2 separate regions of the Homo sapiens genome follow, and region 2 is linked to region 1. The links are contacts of gene promoters, found by promoter capture Hi-C in human tissues and cell types (Jung and others, 2019). All regions are on one chromosome and are shown on one strand. Each heading gives the region's core, a stretch centred on a gene start or on the middle of the fragment in contact. The rest is flanking DNA. Distances are from core to core; before and after follow the strand shown. Region 1 holds the start of TMC7 (transmembrane channel like 7). Region 2 holds the start of LOC105371114 (a long non-coding RNA gene).

Evidence for each region. Contacts are between HindIII fragments. The study calls those that stand out against the background at their distance.
Region 2: a contact is called between a fragment that was not itself captured here and the fragment with the promoter of TMC7 in region 1, in 2 of the 25 tissues and cell types used here (mesenchymal stem cells and ovary).

What each region holds. Positions count from the first base shown.
Region 1 is chr16:18,982,373-18,985,724 of GRCh38, forward strand. It overlaps TMC7 (transmembrane channel like 7), which reads left to right and starts at 1,562. Exons shown (of 16, transcript NM_024847.4): 1 at 1,562-1,758. The coding sequence starts at 1,692. RefSeq lists a silencer at 1,473-1,532. The HindIII fragment of the contact is 36,131 bases long and covers 1-3,352 here.
Region 2 is chr16:19,392,649-19,396,000 of GRCh38, forward strand. It overlaps LOC105371114 (a long non-coding RNA gene), which reads right to left and starts at 1,084. Exons shown (of 3, transcript NR_188657.1): 1 at 728-1,084. RefSeq lists an enhancer at 582-1,781. The HindIII fragment of the contact is 3,858 bases long and covers 1-3,352 here.

The sequences.
Region 1 (3,352 bases), core at 312-2,811:
ATGGCTTAATGTTGATGTTAACTTATTTACTTATTTACTTTTTTTTTTTGAGATGGAGTCTTACTCTGTTGCCCAGGCTGGAGTGCAGTAGTGCAATCTCGACTCACTGCAACCTCCGCCTCCTGGGTTCAAGAGATTCTCCTGCCTCAGCCTCCCTAGTAGCTGGGATTACAGGCGCCCGCCACCATGCCCAGCTAATTTTTTTGTATTTTTGGTAGAGACAGGGTTTCGCCATGTTGGCCAGGCTGGTCTCGAACTCCTGACCTCAAGTGATCCACCTGCCTCGGCCTCCCAAAGTGCTGGGATTACAGGTGTGAGCCACTGATCCCGGATGATGTTAACTTTGATCATCTGTCTGAGACAGTGTTTGTCAGGTATTATCTAATATAAAACCCACCCTCACCCTCTTCCACCACCACTTCCATACTGCACTCTTTTGGAAGGATGTCGCTATGGGCAACTCACACTTAAGGAGTAGGGAGCTAAGCTCCCCATCCTTAAAGTATCTACGTAAATGATTTCAAAATCTGCACAGGAGATTTCTCTCCATTTTCCCCATTTATTTATATTTAGCAATTACTTTTCTTTTTCTTTTTTTTTCTGAGATGGAGTCTCCTTCTGTCGCCCAGGCTGGAGTGCAGTGGCGTGATCTCGGCTCACTGCAACCTCTGCCTCCTGGGTTCCAGCGATTCTCCTGCCTCAGCCTCCCTGGTAGCTGGGACTACAGGCATGCACTACCATGCCAGGCTAATTTTGTATTTTTAGTAGAGACAGGGTTTCACCGTGTTGGCCAGGATAGTCTCGAACTCCTGACCTCAGGTGATCCTCCCGCCTCGGCCTCTCAAAGTGGTGAGATTACAGGTGTGAGCCACTGCGCCTGGCAATTTTATGTTTTTAACCTGCACACGAACAGAGGTAGAGATGAAACGAGGATATAGTGCAAAACGTAAAAGACAAACACTGCACGTGGTTTTCTCTTCACTCGGCCCTCTAGCTCCCCACCCAGAGCTACCACAGGTAGCCAGTTTTTTGCACCCTCTAGGGAGATAGCTTAGGCATTTACAAGCATGTACAAATATATTTTTTGGTTTCCTTTTTGTTCCCAAATGGTAACTTACTAGATGCACTGATTTGGAGTCTTGGGGTTTTTTGCGTGTGGACTTTTTATTTTTTAATTTTAAAGATGGGGGTCTCACTGTGTTGGCCAGGTTGGTCTCAAACTTGTGAGTTCGTGCGGTCCTCCAGCCTCGGACTCCCAAAATGCGAGGATTACAGACGTGAGCCACCACTCCCAACCAGTTATTTTTGTTATTTATTTCTTTATTAGATCAGGTTTGATTTTAGATGCAGGGGGTCCATGTGCATGTTTGTTACATGGGTGTACCGGGTCCTGGTGGAGACTGGGCTCCCAGTGCGCCCAATCTATTGTTATTTTTTAAGCTCAGTGAGACATCAGGGAGGTCGCTGCTTGTCGCCACCGCTGGATGGAGCCTTGCCGGATCTCCCGGGCTCTGCAGCCCCTCTGCGGTCCCTGATGCTCGGCTCCTCGCGGGGGCGCCCCACTCCGGCTTCTGTGATGTCAGCGCCGGAACCTGGAATCCCGGCTCCGCGAGGGAAGGCCGGGGAGGCGGCGGCGGCGGCGGCGGCTGGAGAGGGTCCTCGGCAGCCTCTGAGGAGCGCGGGGCGCGGCCATGAGCGAGTCCAGCGGCAGTGCGCTCCAGCCCGGCAGGCCCAGCCGGCAGCCGGCGGTCCATCCAGGTAGGGCGGCAGGGAGCGCGCGCGGGGACGGTGCCCCTGGGGTCCGAGGGCGCACGGAGGGAGCCGGGTGCTGGAGGCTCGGCCTGGCCGCTGTTCCCTCCCACCCCCGACGCCGGGTGCTCCCGGCTCTGGGGAACAGCAGGTGGGAAGGAGATCTTCCTTATTCCTGCTCCCTCCACAAACGCGTCCTCATCCAATCCAGTGGAACCCAGCCGGGCCAAAAGGACACGAGAACTGCAGTCTGGACCGTGGTGGGTTTGTCTTCCAGCTGTTGACCGAGACAGTCTTTCAATAGCCTCATCTGCTGTTAAATGAAAGGATTTGAGCACCCCCTCCACGCCTAACATTCTGGTATGAGGTGCCTGCCTCCCGGACATTTCAGCCTTCACATACAGTTAGACCAACTTGAAACCGAATTCTGCCTTGTCTGTTTATTGCTGTGGGACCTTTGGTAAGTGGCTTGCCTTCTCTGAGCCTCAGATCCTTCAGCAGTAAAATGGGAATAGAATGGGGCGGGGATTAGCTGAGAATCGTGTGATGTGTCTAGCACAGTGCCTGGCATTGTGGCTAGACAGTCACAATAAATGGTAGCCAGCCAAGTATTATAATCTTTTGTATCGGGTAGAATTACAGTAAAGTATACAGCTCCATGAATTTCTACAGAAATATGTACAACGGCTGCCCAGTCAGGATAAAAAAGTTGCCAGCACTCAGGCAGGGTTCCTTGTAGCATTTGGAGCTTACGAATCTTGTCCTGAACAAAACACAAGACCCTGCTGTAAAGTTTTATCTGCAATGTTTTCTCTTTTTCAGTTTTAGAATAGAGATTTACTGAAACCAAGGATGTAGGGCCGGGCGTGGTGGCTCACGCCTGTAATCCCAGCACTTTGGGAGGCTGAGGCGGGTGGATCACGAGGTCAGGAGTTCAAGACCAGCCTGGCCAAGATGGTGAAACCCCATCTCTACTGAAGATACAAAAATTAGCCAGGAGTGGTGGTGGGTGCTTGTAATCCCAGCTACTTGGGAGGCTGAGGCAGAGAATAGCTTGAACCCGGGAGGCGGAGGTTGCAGTGAGCCGAGATTGCGCCACTGCACTCCAGCCTGGGCGACAGACCAAGACTGTTTCAAAAAAAAAAAAAGAAACCAAGGATATAGAATAAAACATGAGTGTAGATTTGGTCATTGAGGCCTTCAAATTGGATTGTTCCCAATGTCCAGAAGAAAAAAAAAATTTAGAAGAGACCCAAATCAGAAAACAAAAGTTGGGGTGGATTCAATGCGAATTATTTTCTAGCTCAATATTAATACTGCTTATGTCAGCTGAATTTCAGCCTTTCAATAACAGCTAGTCAAGTATTTTTTTAGTTGGTTCCTATTAATAGTCATCTTATTTTAGTGGAATCCATTATATTGAAGATGTCAAGTTCCTCATTTCCCATACAAAGAATGTGAGATTCATCTTTCTTGCATCTTTGCTAAGTGTATGAGGGGACTTTTGGCATCTTTTCAGGAGGACTATAATTGGGCCCTCTAACTAAAAAGTCTTCTATGCCCCTTAGATAGATGAGTTTTTTTTTTTTTTTTTTGATCTTGT
Region 2 (3,352 bases), core at 330-2,829, 410 kb after region 1:
GGGACTATAGGGTTCTCATCAAATTTGGGGGTTGCTTTATTTTTTTCTCCTTTCTTACTTTTAGCCCCAGGGACCATATTCATTCAATAGATATTGAATACCTACTATGTGCCAGGCACCATCCTAGGCACTGGGGATTCAACAACAGACAACAGAACAGAGCAAAGTCCCTGCCCTCTGGGAGCCCACATTGTAGAGACAAGACACACATGCATCTATAATGTGTCAGGCAGGGACGAGTGCTTTGGAAAATAATAAAGCAGAAGCCGGGTGTGGTGGCTCATGCCTGTAATTGCAGGCTCCCACCAAGGTGGGAGGATCACTTGAGGCCAGGAGTTCAAGACCAGCCTAGGCAACATAATGAGACCCTGTCTCTACTAAAAATTTTTAGAAGTTAGCCAGGCATAGTGGTGCACGTCTGTAGTCCCAGCTACTCAGGAGGCTGAGGCAGGAGGATCACTTAAGGCCAGGAGGTCAAGGTTGCAGTGAGCTAGGATTGTGCCACAACACTCTAGCATGGGCAATTTCAGGGGTCCCTGAAGTCCCCTCCTTTTCCAGAATACCTAATGATTATTCCACCCCCTAATTAAAGAAACACCAAATAAAATTAGAAACCCAAACTCTGTTTGCGTGACTCGTTCTCACGAGCATGCACCCACTTCTCTCTTAAGTGCAGACTTTTGCTTTCCAATAAAAGCTTCTTGCATTTCACTTCATTCTGACTCACCTGTGAATTCTTTCTTGTGATGATGTCAAGAATCTGGGGACCGGCTGTGGCTGGGGTCTCGTTGGCATCCAGAAACCCTCCTGAGCCCTCTTGTGACACCAGGATTTGCCGACAGAGCAAATGTGAGGAGAGGCATCAGAATTTCTCTAAGACTTCTGAGCTGAGCAACCATCTAGAAGGTTGGAGCTGCTTTATTTGGTGGGGAATGTTAGGGAAACCAGCCCCACACCACCCAGTGGGTACCCTGAGTCTGGTGGAGACATAGGAGTTAGAAAGAGACAGAATAAGCATTTAAAAGGCGGGTTCAGGGGACCAGAATATCGGAGGCTTGCTCACGGCCCAGAGCTCTTGAGCTCTGCCAAATTTACTGGTTTACAAGCTCTTTGTTCTTAGGGCAGATGGGAGGGGGAGGAAGGGATGAGGAAAAGGATTAATCAGTGAAGGAGAACTCGTGAGTCATTCCATAAGATGTGTAGCAGTGGCGGTTTCTGTGAATTTCCTTGAGCAAAGGCGTGTGTCTAAACTACTTAAGATCTTTAGCTTATCAGGACTGAAATGGGTGGGAGCGGGTTTAAGGAGGAGCCAAGATGTTTGATTATACTCCACTGCTTCAAGGGAGTGTTGTCTCCCTGAGCAACCTGTGGAATGCTGCTGAGTGGTTATGCTCTTGGGGCATAAAGACATGAAAGCAATAAGGAGACTTTTCTCCCCAGAGGCTGCCCATGGCTTCCCATGGGTGTCTCACACAGGGGAGACCAACTCAACTGGCACCCCAGAAACACTTTCCCACATGTTCCCCTTTTTTGCCTCTATTGATTTTTTTTTATTAATAACTGCCATTGCTATTATGGCTCATTCATGGTGTCTGGTTTCTCTCCCAAGGCACCATCTGCATCTGTAGACTAAAAACAAGCAACATAAACAGACACAAACCAAAATAAAATTTGCAATTGTTGATCCACCTATGGTTTCAATCCACTTTAAAGGATTGGTATTAGAAAGGCCATCAGAGGCTCCAGCAAGAATATCAGCTCCAGGCAATAGGGTGAGATGAGCCTGAGATGCCTCAAAAACTTGTTTTTTCAGTTTAGCAATATCTAATGTTAAATTATCTTTTTTTCCTTGTAGGTGACGTCTAATCGTCTCTCACTGGTGTTCAATGGCATTATAAGAGCTAGGAGTAAAACAAAAATCGGAAGTATTCCAGTCACATTGTTTTTGAATTCTATGCTCCAAGCTCATAATCCAATCTCCCATCCAAATTACTGTTTGACAGAGATCATTAATTTGATTTGCCAATTTTTGACCTATTTGGCTTTGGGAATTCCAAAGCTTAGAAGAATTTTTCTGCCAACTATCCACAAAGCCCGCTGTTTGAATAGAAGAGTGCAAAGCAACACCAGCAGCAGCAGCAGTAGCTGTGACAGCTATAAGGCCCATGATCACAGCTATTAAAGTAAATATGAATCTCTTTGATCTATTAAGTATTCCTTTTAGTACTTCCGTGATAATATGTATGGAGGGAGAGGCCTCCCAAGGTCTATTGAGGGAAACAGTTATTCAAACTCCTTGGGCCCTAACCGGTAAAATGCTATTATCTTTATTAAAGGTAGAATTAATGCAGGTAAAAAGATGACAGTTGAGGCATGATATGGTTTGAGAGTCAGTTAGGATATTAATTTTTCCCACTGCCAACATAAAAGGAGGTTTAACAAAACTCTGCAATGGGAATGTCTGATTAGAGGTCATGGCTACGACAAATCAAAGTTTTTTTTACTAAGGGTCTTTGTTTTATATTCTCCTTTCCAAATCCGAATTGGGGTTTGAGCCATCATTAATTTCCACAATTCTAGATGTTCTGGACTTATAATTGGATCAATCATTTTTGGGCTTGAAAGAGCCATACCGTTCTCCTCCCACTTAATAGGTTAATTTGTTTTAATTCTTCTATATAATTTTGGTGCATTATCTGGGTAGTTGTTTGCAAAAGGAGTCTCTCTACCATCTTCGCACTGTCCAGTACAATTTACTGCAAAGCGTCCCATAGGGGCCCAATCAATGACGATTCCATAGGAATTACTTTGCAGTACAGCAGTGCTGTTTGCAATACAATCTTCCCAGGTTAGCACCTCTAGCTTTCCAGACCATTTAGTGGCCTTCCTAGGGCAGGGCTTCTTATTAGGTTTATATTTATTAATCTGGCGATGTGTCATAACATAGCCGTGCTCAAGGTATTTAATAGTGTCCAAAGATTGAAATGTTCTTCCACTGATTGCATGAATAGGGGCTTTTGATCCATTATTTGCAGGGACACAAGTCATCCAACTTTGTTTATCATAATTTAAACATCCTGCTGCCGGCCCCAGGCAGATGGAAGGAAAGTGATAACCAATGGAAACATTCATTAACATTCCTTCCTCCTCTGGATGAGTAGGGCCTCGGTTATCTATTGGTCCAGGCATCCAGATACTATCATTAACATGGGGTCTAACCATGTAACAGGCCTAATCAGTGGTGGGAATGGAATGTAGGCCCAGTAAGTGTAATTTTGATCTGCCTCAGCTATGGGGAGACTCACTGCAGGGAGATTACCACCATCATAGCTACCATTAGATTACTGGTGGT